Linked DNA regions of Homo sapiens: region 2 is linked to region 1. Evidence: promoter capture Hi-C in human tissues and cell types (Jung and others, 2019). All regions are on one chromosome and are shown on one strand. The core of a region is centred on a gene start or on the middle of the fragment in contact, and the rest is flanking DNA. Distances in the headings are between cores, read along the strand shown.

Region 1 (6,009 bases), core at 2,161-4,660:
ATTTTGTGGGGATATTTGCATTCCTGGCGTACTCAAGTCTGTTCATGCTCCTTTTGCAGGTCTTACAGCAAAAAGACTTCTGTATTTTTACTCTTCTAGATGTGAAAAGAGGGTGCAGAGTCCAGGCCAGATAGTCTTCCCCACACACTTTCATCTCGTTTCCTCCACTCCGCCCCATCCTGCAGGGCCTTGTTTTTGTATTTGGAGAACCTCGCCCATCCCCCCCGCGGCTCCTGGCTCCCCCCCACTCCCCTCGCTCCCCCTCCCCCCGCTCCCCCCACGCCCCCTGCTCCAGGCTGCCAAGTGTTTTCCTTTAGCCGGGCGGGGACAGACAGAGCCGGAAGCGCAGTCGGCCTCTGCAGCCCCTCCAAGCAAGTGCTCCAGGGACTATCCTGTGTTTGTAGCTGCTTCCCTAGGGCAGGTTCCTGAGGGCTCTCCTTGTTCCTCCGGGTGTTCGACACCAGACGTGGGGATTTCAACAGGGGAGGAGCCAAGGAATTCTGTGGCTGTGCTGCGTTTCAGAAAATAACCCCCAGAGGCCTTGGGCTGTGGACCTGGGGGTTGGAAGGATGGGGGCTCATTTAACCCTCAGAGGCAGCGCCTTTGTCTGTCTATCTGGTGACAAGAGAGAGACAAGTAAATGGGGGCCGTTGGGACGGCGGGTGCCTGGAGGGCAGCTCTGGGCTCAGCGGGCAGTGCTTAGAGCACAGGCCCCTCTGTTGGGGGATGGGGAGGAGAGCAGTCTGCCCTTGGGAGCGTAGGCCCCAGGGAGACTTCTAAAGCCCCCCCTGTCGTCTGCTCTTCACCCAGCACCACAGAGGCACCTGCTGCACACACAAGCATCTCACTCGGCCCACGGAGGGGGCCAGGCTTCCTTTGCCTGAAGCTGTTTTGGGAAGGGTCTCCACACAGGCACTGATCTCCCAAGCTTTTGTCATGATGTCTTTTACCATTTGATAATTTTAAACATTGTTTTTAAACCCAAAACATTTAGTGGTCCGTTGCCTCTGAAGATGTAAACAAACAAATACACTATTTCTGGGAACATTTATATTGAGATTCTTTGTGGCTATTGGTGTGTCTCACAGGCAAAATTTGATTTGGCTAAAATAGGCTCAGATGTATTTGTGTGCCCGTGTGTGTGTGTGTGTGTGTGTGTGTGTGTGTGTGTGTATGAGAGAGAGAGAGACTTTGACGGTTGTAGATATTTTTTCCGCTTTGCCTACTTTATGTTGTATAATCATGTGTTTACTAACAAGTTGATGACATGGATGTATTCATAAGACCATGTAATATTGATGTGATTGTTGTCGCTTGAGAAAAAAAGGCAACAGCTGATTCTTTCAACAACTGTCACAGAATGGCTGGGCTGAGAACGCTGCCCAGGGCCCTGCAGCTGGCGGGAGAGGTGTCTGGTGGGAGCGGTGTCTGGTGCGTCAGCCTGCTGCTTCGTGTCTCACTCGAGAGTTGCTTCTGGTTTCACACTTTTTAACCCCTCTGTGCTTTAGCAGCCGTGACCTTGCCTTCATTGCTTCATCCAGTGCAGGCCTGGGTTATTGAAGACACCAAAGTGTTTCTCTTCCAGTTTGAAAACCAGGCAGGTTTACACGTGGGTTTCAGTGTATTTGCCTTTGAACCCTTCAAACTAAACTTTAGCCTTTTGGCTGGTGTTGAATGTCTTTAGCTGGGGTGACCTGGAGTGACCTGGGACGGTGTTGTGGTTTACCGTCTCCAGCTTCAGCCTTTCCAGAAACCCTTGTGGAGGGCAGTGTTGGCTGCAGGTTTCATCATATTGCAGTTTGAGGTCACCACTATTTGGGGAACAAGCTTGCGTCCTGCTGAGGGGCAGGATTTTCAGCAGAGCGTCGGTGGGGCTGGGCCGTCGTGGAGGTGGCCCCAGGAGTCATATGGCCATACTCAGACACACCTTGTGTGGCCTGCTCAGAGCTGGATGCCACCTTTAGGCAATGTTTAGAGTCTATTTTCTAAAGTTTTAAGTATTTTAAGAGGTATTGAGACTAATGAATATAATAGTTCAGTAATTTAAATGCTTATTTATTTTCAGTGGAAGGATTTTTATTAAAAAGAAGCTAATTGACATGGAAATGTCAGTGAAATTTCTTACCTGCAAGGAAAGTGAACATTTTGTATTTAAGTAAACTATAATGTGCACATTTTAATAAAGAAATCTGACATTTGAAAAAATGGTGATTCTTTTGAAATGTGAACCAGCTCTACCAGTGGGAGTTGTGGTAGAGGCGGTGGGTGCAGAATGGACCCCTCTTTTGTTCACGTACTGGACATCTGAAATCCTAGAGTTTCTCCTATCGAATCATTGGCTTTTGGGACACAGCCCAAGGGTCGGATGGAAAGTAGAAGATGGAAAGCAGTGATAGATCATCTCCCTGGAGCTGATCTGGACGAGACTCACAGGACAAGACCCTTGATTTTACACAGGTTAAAGGGCAGCTGAGATGCATGTCAGCTACACACTTCAAAGAGCACGCGCGGCAGCCCAGCCTGAGGGCACCTCAGAGGACCCCCAGCTTGCTTGAGTGGCCATCCCTCTGCTTCCTGGGTGTGAGTGTCCTGCTAAGGCTGTTTGTGGTGTTCTGTGGGGTGCCCTTGACCCCGTGTTGTCTTCTGCCCCTCCCCTACTTTTGCTGTGCCAGTGGGGGCAGGGCAGTGGTCAACAGTCTTGCCTGTGGCTGTGGAGGAAGCCGGTTGGCACCTCCCTGGCCAGGCTGTGCAGAGGCTGGCAGTAACTCAGTCACTCGTCAGGCACCGAGCAGACACCAGCCTGGGTGTGTACTGGGCGATTCCTTCAGGCCCTGCCTATGCCCAAGGTCTTGAGTCCTCAGCAGTGCTTTTGTTACAGGGGACTGCAGGTGCCTCTCCTCCTGGCAGCCCGGAGGGGTGCGGGCTGAGCTCCTCCCAGAAGTTGGGGGTTGAGTTCAAGGAGGTTAAGAGTGGAAAGTTCCCTGACCAGCAAAACACCTGCAGGAGAGTGCCCCAGTGAGCCCTGGGCTGGAGTTGATCACGCATGGGGCTGCCCCGGGGCACGGCCTGGGCACTGCCTTCCAGAGGCTGCACGCCAGAAGGGTAGGGTCAGTGTCCTCCTGCCCTGCGGCTGGACGACCCGCTTGCTGCGAAACTCGGCGAATCCCAGCGCCTCAGCAGGGCCTGGAGCTTAGGGAGGAGCGGGCACGGCCACCCTGGGTCTCAGAGGGGTGAGGGCGGGGGCTGCCTTGAGTGCGGCCCAACCCAGCCAGGGAGGGAGGCGCGCCCGACACGGGGCAGAGGCGGGGGTGGGGACCGGGGCGACGAGAGGGGCCCCGGGAGGTGGGCGGGCGCGCGGGCGGGGCGGGCAGCGGGCGCCTCCTTCAGCACCGCGGACAGCGCCAGGCCCAGTGGCTCCCGGGCTCCCTGCCCCGCACGACGCGGCGGGACTTGGGAGCCCCGAACCCTCCAGGGGACGCTGACCTAGGAGGAGCGCGTCTCGCGCCACTCGGCCTGGTGGCCGCGATGCTGCTGGAAACGGGGCTCGAGCGCGACCGAGCGAGGCCCGGGGCCGCCGCCGTCTGCACCTTGGGCGGGACTCGGGGTAAGCCCCAGCAGGACACTGAGGACAGAAACGGCAAGGGCGGCAGAGGCGCGAGGAAGGGGGTGCGTGCAGGGCCAGCGGCCAGGCAAAGAAAGTCCCGCCGCTCTGCAGGCGGGACACAGAGATGGAAACTGCAGAGAGTGAGTTTCCAGATCCCAGGGTGGCGGGGAGGGCCTGACGCTGGCCTGCAAGAGTGCGGGACAGCGGTTGGAGTGGAGGCCCCTAGAAAAAAAGGGGGCATCGCAGGCACAGCTGGGGGGCGATGGGGCCGACCAAGGGGTGCTAGGTTCCCCCGGTGACCAGTGCCCGTCAGCTCTTGCACACAGCCCGGCCCAGGTCTCTGGACCCCACAGCAGGGGACCCAAGCCTGTGTCTCCCGCCTGAACCACCCTCCCCAAGGGCCATTCCATCACCACGGACGCTGGGAAATAATGGAGGCATTGTTGGAGGGCTGGCCAGATGCCAGCAGGGTGGGCCGCCTCCTTAACCTGCCGCCGCCCCTTCCCCAGTCCTGCCACACACGACCCCTGATCGCTTCGGCAGCAGCTGACACTCAGCCACCTGCACCCAGCACAGCCCGCACACACTCGGCTTTGCACCCGCGTGTCCTTGCCCTGGCCCTTCTTGGGTAACAAGTGCTGTGCAAAGTGAAGGGGCAGAAAGCTGGCTGCATGGGCCACTGCTCAAAACGGACACATCGGACCTGCTGGGAGCTAGGAGGGAGGGACTGTGGTTTCTTGTGCCCATCCTTCTGGGCCTGGGCCCTTAAAGCTCACAGTCCAGAAGCCATAGGCAGAGTGGACAGAGTATTGCTGTGAGACCCACAGGGAGAGGGACCTGCAGGATGGCATCAGCCCCTGGTCCCCCAACCCTTCCTGTGTGTTTCTGCGCACTGCCAGGGCACCCCTGCCTTTGCCAAGTCCTGTGCTGCCGAGGGCCACCCACTGCTGTGTTCTTCCCCGGGTGGCTGCCCAGGGCTGGTGCTGGCCCAGGGCCCTCTGGGCAGGGGTGGGTGCGTCCCTCTGCCTGCAAGGACAGGTGGGTTCTGGAGAGCTCACCTGTGTGGACTGGGGCAAGAGGCTGAAATATCAGGTAAGGGACCGTGTTCCAATGGAGCCGGAGTGCTGGGGGCTGGAAATGGAAGGTGTGCCCTGGGGCTTCCCCAGCTCGGCCCCTCACGACCCGAGGTCTTGGCTGCGTGTCCAGGACACAGAGCCTGTTCTCTCTCAAGGATTGCCCTTCCTCCCTGAGCCGTCCGGGGCCGCAGTTCCAGGGGTGGAGCCCAGAAGCCTGTTAGCATCTGGGATCGGTCCGGCACCTTGCGGTTCCGGTACGCAGCCCTCGGCGCCACACTCACCCCTTCTGCGTTTCGGGTTGAGCTCCCGCCGACCATCTGCTGCTCCCGAGGCCAAACCTCAGCGGCGGGAGGACCCTGCTGCCTTCTCGACCCCTCTCCCGGGAACCTTAGCCCTCCTGGCGTGTGCTCCAGCTCAGGCCTCTGCCTCTGGGCCGCTCCGGCGCAGGAAGCTGCGGGGCCGGGACGAACGCTGGCGGGAAGCCCTGACCTGGGCCCTCCCTTACCGGTGCCCGCCCTCGGGCCGGGCACGCGGGGCGGCCTCTGGGCACCGCAGGTCCCGGCGCAAAGGCGCTCAGAGTCCGCAGTGGCCCGGGCTGGTCTCCGCGACCCCCGGCCCCGCCCCGCCCCGCGGCCCCGCCCCCCGGCCGCTCCGCCCTCCGCTCGGCCAGAGGCTCCGGGCCCCAGGGCGGCCCGCGGGCGCAGCGCCCAGCAGCACCCGGAGTCGCTTGGACGCCGGTTCGGGGCTATTGCGGGGTGGCGTCGCTGGGCCCGGGAAAGTTCGGGACTGGAGAGTGGCGACGCCGGGCGGCGGGACCCATGGAGGCGCGCGGGGAGCTGGGCCCGGCCCGGGAGTCGGCGGGAGGCGACCTGCTGCTAGCACTGCTGGCGCGGAGGGCGGACCTGCGCCGAGGTGGGTGCCCGGGCCGAGTGGCTGCACCGGGGAGACCAGGAGATCCTCAGGCCTTTCCGGGCCTGGCCGCGGAGGCTGGCAGGAGCTAGAGGATCTGGGCGGGAGTGGGCGCGAGGACCCCGGAACGTCCGCGCCTGGGCGCCTCAGCCTGTATTTGTTGCAGGGCCCCTGGCCTGGGTTGTCAGGGAGTGAGTGAGGTTGTGGCACTGCGCTGCTCCGGCCAGGGAGCTCTCGGGGGTCCAGGGTGGGCTTAGGAGACCTCTGCAGCCCGGAGCCAGCTCCCTGGGCTGGAGGAGGCGCAGGGAGCAGTGGCGGGGCAGTGACCACGGGACAGGAGGGTCCCCAAGAAGGCCGCCCCAGCCGGACTCTTTCCACGTTCCAGCGGAACAGAGTCAGATGCAGGGGCCAAGGTCGAGC
Region 2 (6,181 bases), core at 3,030-5,529, 64 kb before region 1:
CCAATTCTTCTTTCCTGGCCTTTAAGTTATTGTTGTCATGAATTTTATTTTAAATGTTTTGTTTGTTTTTTGAGATGGGGGTCTCACTGTGTCACCCATGCTGGAGTGCAGTGGTGAGATCTCGGCTCACTGCAACCTCTGCCTTCTGGGCTCAAGCAATCCTCCTTCCTCAGCCTCCCAAGTCGCTGGGACCACAGGCATGCACCACCACCCCAAGCTAGTTTTTGTTTTTTTTTTTTTCTTGAGACAGAGTTTGCTCTTGTTGCCCAGGCTGGAGTGCAAAGGTGCAATCTTGGCTCACTGCAACCTCCACCTTGCAGGTTCAAGCGATTCTCCTGCCTCAGCCTCCTGAGTAGCTGGGATTACAAGTGTGCACCACCACGCCCAGCTAATTTTTGTATTTTTAGTAGAGACGGGGTTTCACCATGTTGGCCAGGCTGGTCTCGAAGTCCTGACCTCAGGTGATCCACCTGCCTCGATCTCCCAAAGTGCTGGGATTACAGGCGTGAGCCACCACGCCCGGCCATTTTTGTATTTTTTGTAGAGATGGGGTTTTGCCATGTTGCCCAGGCTTATTTTAAATGTTTTATAAACTCTGCGATACATTGTTATCATTTTGTTTAAACAGCCAATTATCTTGTTAAAAGTTTTAAATAATATATGTGTTTATATTTACATCTGCACATAGTCGTCATTTTACCATTTCTGGTGCTCTCCATTGCTTCCGGTAGATGTAGATTTCTAACCCGCATCCTTTTCCTTCTGCTGGAAGGATTTCCCTTAGCATTTCTGGTGGTGCGTGTCTGCTGGTGTCTTTAGCTTTTGGATGTCTAAGGACACCTTCATCTCATCTCTGTTTTTGACGTACTCTTTCCTGGACATAGAATTCTAGGTGCAGTTTTTCCCTTTCAGTACTTTGAAGACATTGCTCCATTGTCTTCTTGCTTGCATTATTTGTGACAAGAAATTGATTGCCATTCTTCTTGGTTCGTCAGTACATCACCGTGTCTTTGTTTCTCTGGCTGCTTTTGACTTTCTCAGCCAGGCGTGGTGGCTCACACCTGGAATCCCAGCACTGTGGGAGGCCCAGGCAGGTGGATCACGAGGTCAGGAGATCAAGACCATCCTGGCTAACATGGTGAAACCCCATCTCTACTAAAAATACAAAAAATTAGCCAGATGCGGTGGCGGGTGCCTGTAGTCCCAGCTACTCGGGAGGCTGAGGCAGGAGAATGGCGTGAACCCAGGAGGCGGAGCTTGCAGTGAGCCGAGATCGCGCCACCGCACTCCAGCCTGGCTGACAGAGTGAGACTCCGTCTCAAAAAAAAAAAAAAAAAAAGACTTTCTCTTTGTTACTGGTTTTGAGCAATTTTATTATGATGTCCTTTGTTATTGTTATTCTTCATTTTTTAATTTTTATTTTTTGAGACAGAGTCTCGCTCTGTTGCCCAAGCTGGAGTGCAATGGCACAATCTCGGCTCACTGCAACCTCTGCGTCTCAGGTTCAAGCGATTCTCCTGCCTCAGCCTCCCAAGTAGCTGGGATTACAGGCACCCACCACCACACCCGGCTAATTTTTGTATTTTTGTAGAGACAGGATTTCACCATGTTGGCCAGGCTGGTCTTGAACTCCTGACCTGAGGTGATTTGCCCACTTCAGCCTCCCAAAGTGCTGGGATTATAGGCAGGAGCCACCACGCCCAGACCATATTTCTTGTCCTCTGGGTTTGTTGAGATTCTTCGACCTGTGGATTTTTCATTTTCTTCAAATTTGGAAATAGTTCAGCCACTATTTGTTCAAATATCTTTTTGCTCCTCTTTCTCTCACCTCTCCTTCAGGGACTCCAATTATGTGGGCAGAAGATTACCCAGGTGCCGAGGCAAGAGACTGAAGGCACAAACTGTTTCAGTATAATAAAGAAAATAGTTAGAACAAGAATAGTTATATTACAAATTAGATATAGAGATGATCATGGACAATTATCAATCATTAGGATAAACATTATTAATCATTTAGCTTTTAATATTACTCTTTGTTGCATTACAAATATAACCTAGGGATAACCGGTGGGTATAGCATCAGGTCTGAAGGGACATTGTGAGAAGTGACCTGGAAGGTAAGAGGTGAGGCCTCTGTCACACCCGCATAAGGGCCGCTTGAGGGCTCCTTGGTCAAGCGGTAATGCCAGTGTCTGGGAAGGCACCCGTTACTTAGCTGACCATGAAAGGGAGTCTCCTTTCCTTGGAGGAGTCAGGGAACGCTCTGCTCCACCAGCTTCTTGTGGGAGGTTAGATATTATCCAGGCTTGCCCCCAGTCATCCGGAGGCCTAAACCCCTCCCTGTGGTGCTTCAGTGGTCACCCTCCTTGTCTACTTTCATGTTCCTCCCATACTCCTGGTTCCTCTTTAAAGTTCGTAGTAGATAGCAGAAGAAGAAATAGTGGAAGTCTTAAAGTCTCTGATCTTTCTTATAGTACACAGAAGAAAACGCTGATGTATGCTGCCTTCCCTCTCTGCTTCGGCTACCTAAAAGGGAAGGGCCCCCTGTCCTATGATCACGTGACTTGCTTGACCTTTTTAATCACTTGGACGACTCAGTGATTAAGACTCCTTACCCTGCCCCGTTGTCTTGTATACAATAAATATGAGCGTGCCCAGCCATTGGGGGCCACTACCTGTCTCCGCTTCTTGATGGTAGTGGTCCCCCGGGCCCAGCTGTTTTCTCTTTCTCTCTTTGCCTTGTGTCTTTATTTCTTACGATCTCTCATCTCCGCACATGGGGAGAACACCTGCTAAGCCCCGTAGGGCTGGAGCTTACACAATTACGCATACATTAGGCCACTTGAAGTTGTGAGCTTACTGAAGCTCTTTGTATTCTTTTATTCTTTTTTCTTCTCTGTTTCCTTTTGGATAGTTTCTATTGCTATATCTTCCAGTTCGTTCATCTCTCCTTCTGCAGTGTCTAGTCTGCCCTTCATCCCATCCAGTGTGTTTTTCATCTCAAGTGATTTAATTTTCATCAGTTTACACATTCCATTTGGATCTTTTCGTTTTATATCCTCTGTGGCTCTACTTAACATCTTAACATATGCGATAGAGTTACGAAACTTCTAATGTCCTTCTCTGCCAATTCTCACACCCACGTCAAGCCTGGGATACTGTTAATAAATTATCCTGCTCATTACTGGTTGTGTTTTTCTGGTTTCTTTGCATATCTTCTGGGCCCTGTGAATTTTACCTTGCTGAGTGCTAGATATTTTTGTATTCTTGTAAACATTCCTTTTTTTTAATTTTTCCTTTTGAGACAGTCTCACTCTGTTGCCAGGCTGGAGTGCAGTGGCGCAATCTCAGCTCACTGCAACCTCTACCACCCAGGTTCAAGCAATTCCCCTGCCTCAGCCTCCCGAGTACCTGGGACTACAGGCGCCCACCACCACGCCCAGCTAATTTTTTGTATTTTAGTAGAGACGGGGTTTCACCATGTTAGCCAGGATGGTCTCCATCTCCTGACCTCGTGATCCACCCACCTTGGCCTCCCAAAGTGCTGGGATTACAGGCGTGAGCCACCGCACTGGCCCCTATAAACATTCTTAAGCTTTCTTCGGGACTGCAGTTATTTAGAAGTAATTTGGTCCTTTCAGACTTTTCATTAATAGTGTGTTAGGTCGATCTGGATCAGTGCTCAGCCTGGGGCTAATCATTTCCGACAGTCAAGGCAAGAACGTTCTGTGTACACTGCCTGCCCAGTGACCTGGGAGTCCTAAGGTCCTCCAGCCTGACTACTGGAAACAGGCGTCATTACCAGGCTTCCAGTCCCCCGGAACGCTTCTGTCCCAGCATCTGGTAGCTTCTTGACACGCATTCATCCATCAGTTCTCTACTGAATACTCCAGAGGGACACTTGATACATCTCAGAGGTCCTCTCTCTGTGCGACTCTCTCCTCTCTGACACTCTGCCCCCACAAACTCCAGCTGCCTTGGTCCTCCCAGACTCTCTGCTGTCTCCTCTACCCAGGGAGTCCTCCAGCTCAGCCAGCTTCCCCTCCCTCACCATAGCCTGGCAACTCTCTGAGGCAGTAAGCCGTGAGCATCGCAAGTCTCCTCCCCTCCTTTGTTTTCTGTCTCTCAGGGATCACTGTGCTATGTTGCCTCAAGTCCAGTGCCTGGAAAACTGTTATTTCATATGTGTGTGTGAAAAAATATATATATATGTATACACACACATATCTCTATATAAACACACATGTGTGTGTGTATTTACGTGATTTTTTCAGTTGTTGCAGATGGGATGGCAAAGCCAAAATCCAGTCCCTTTTGCTCTGTCTTTGGTGGGAGGGAACGTCCTTAAGGATCGCTTGAAGTACAGGCTCCTTTTTCCATCACTCAGAACAGAAGCATGGCCAGCAGAGGTCGGCAGCAGGTCAGCTACTTCAGCTGGGGATCTGGGATCTGCTGTCACCTGCCAGCTCCTTGGTGCTAGACCCCGACAGCCCTTCTCCCTCTCTGGGCCTCACTCTCCCCTCCTTTAGAAGCCTGTAGACGCAGAGCAGCTGGGCTGTCTCCCTGAGCTTCCTCTACTTTTGGTCTGGTCTTTCCCATGATCAGTAGGGTCACAAACCACAACTTCACATCAAGAGACTGCCTGTCCCTTCCCGCGTGGTCTTGTGGATTCTGCGTGAAGCCCTGTGTGTCCGGGATGGGATGGGGACACTAAACTGCCCTAGACCTCCTACTTTTATGAGGCCCTCCGGTAGAAATGGCCCCTGACACGGGGCACTCAGACCCCCTACATGACCCAACCATGGCGCTTCCTTCCTCAGAGGTGGAGGGCCCTGACGGAGCCCTCTCCCAGCTTCCCCTGGCCAAGTTCTTCCCTCCGGACAACCCCACCCACCAGGTACGTGGAGAGGTCCCCTGGGGGAGAGGCACAATTTCAGGACCCAGCACGGCCCTGGTAGTGGGCCCCGGACCCAACTGTCCTTCCACTAAGAAGGGCCAAGGCAGGTCCTGGGTTGGGAGGTTCTTCCGGCGATCGCGTCACCCGCTCTTCCAGCTGACAGCTACCCAAGCCCGTTCCTCCCGCCCTGGGTGACAGAGGGGGGCAGGCATTTCAACATGGTGCTTTGGGCAGGGTTAGCCCCCGCCCAGGTTGTATATTTTAGGGCAGGTGGCCTGGGCTTCCTGGATCAGGGCTGGTGGTGAGGCCGAGATGCTAAAGATCCTGCCTGCCCCGCCAGCTCACAGTCGGGGAAGCGAGGGCGGCATAGGGGGATGGGAGGGGCGGGCAGTCCGAGAGGGCTTCTCGGAGGCGGTGGCCTGTGCTGGGAGCGGTCTAGAAGCTAGGCGGTGACGCGGCCCACCCTACTGGAGCCCCGCGAGGCCCGGAAGCACCGAACCCAGAGCTTTAGGGGCCTTGGGCCGCTTCAAGCTGCAGATGCTGGAGCGGAGCCTGCGGGAGGAGGAGCTGCGAGCACAGCACCAGGCCGCGCTGCTGCGCCTGCGAGAGATGGCGCTCCAGGAGAAAACGCTCGCGGAGCTGGCCTGGCTGGAGCATCGACGAGGGTGAGCGCATGCGCCTGGCGCCGGCCCCGCCCCGCCGTAGCCCCGCCCTGCTGTAGCCCCGCCCTGCTGTAGCCCCGCCCCCTCCCTGCCCCGTCCGGGTCCCGCCCGTGGCCCCGACAGCGTTTTGAGAAACAAGAGGTACTGGTCCAAACAGTAATAGGTGTTTGCTGAAACTTACATAAGGCAGTAAAGTACTCAATACACAAATAAAAAAATACCCCCATCGTTCCAAAGGTGACCTCTGAGATCATCTTTGTGCATACTTTGTTTTTTTGTTTTGTTTTGTTTTGTTTTGAGACAGAGTTTCGCTCTTGTTGCTCAGGCTGGAGTGTAGAGGCGCGTGGCGCGATCTAGGCTCACTGCAACCTCCGCCTCCCAGGTTCAAGGGATTCTCCTGCCTCAGTCTCCCGAGTAGCTGGGACTACAGGTGTGCGCCACCACGCCCAGCTAATTTTGTATTTTTAGTAGAGATGGGGTTTCTCCATGTTGGTCAGGCTGGTCTCGAACTCCCTACCTCAGTTGATCCGCCAGCCACGGCCTCTCAAAGTGCTGGGATTACAGGCGAGAGCCACCACGCCCAGTGCGGATACTCTGTTTTGGGGAGAAACACACATGGCTA

Evidence for each region. Contacts are between HindIII fragments. The study calls those that stand out against the background at their distance.
Region 2: a contact is called between a fragment that was not itself captured here and the fragment with the promoter of LHX3 in region 1, in 2 of the 25 tissues and cell types used here (IMR-90 fibroblasts and lymphoblastoid cells).

Annotation. Positions count from the first base shown.
Region 1 is chr9:136,202,529-136,208,537 of GRCh38, reverse strand. LHX3 (LIM homeobox 3) reads left to right here and starts at 3,410. Exons shown (of 6, transcript NM_178138.6): 1 at 3,410-3,604. The coding sequence starts at 3,526. QSOX2 (quiescin sulfhydryl oxidase 2) reads left to right here. Exons shown (of 12, transcript NM_181701.4): 12 at 1-2,205. RefSeq lists an enhancer at 1-103. The HindIII fragment of the contact is 12,211 bases long and covers 1,379-6,009 here.
Region 2 is chr9:136,266,765-136,272,945 of GRCh38, reverse strand. It overlaps CCDC187 (coiled-coil domain containing 187), which reads left to right. Exons shown (of 26, transcript NM_001378188.1): 15 at 4,821-4,897; 16 at 5,435-5,562. Among named protein-coding and RNA genes, the nearest start is that of QSOX2, 24 kb to the right of the region's middle. RefSeq lists an enhancer at 5,240-5,309 and silencers at 5,110-5,485, 5,550-5,709. The HindIII fragment of the contact is 6,359 bases long and covers 1,100-6,181 here.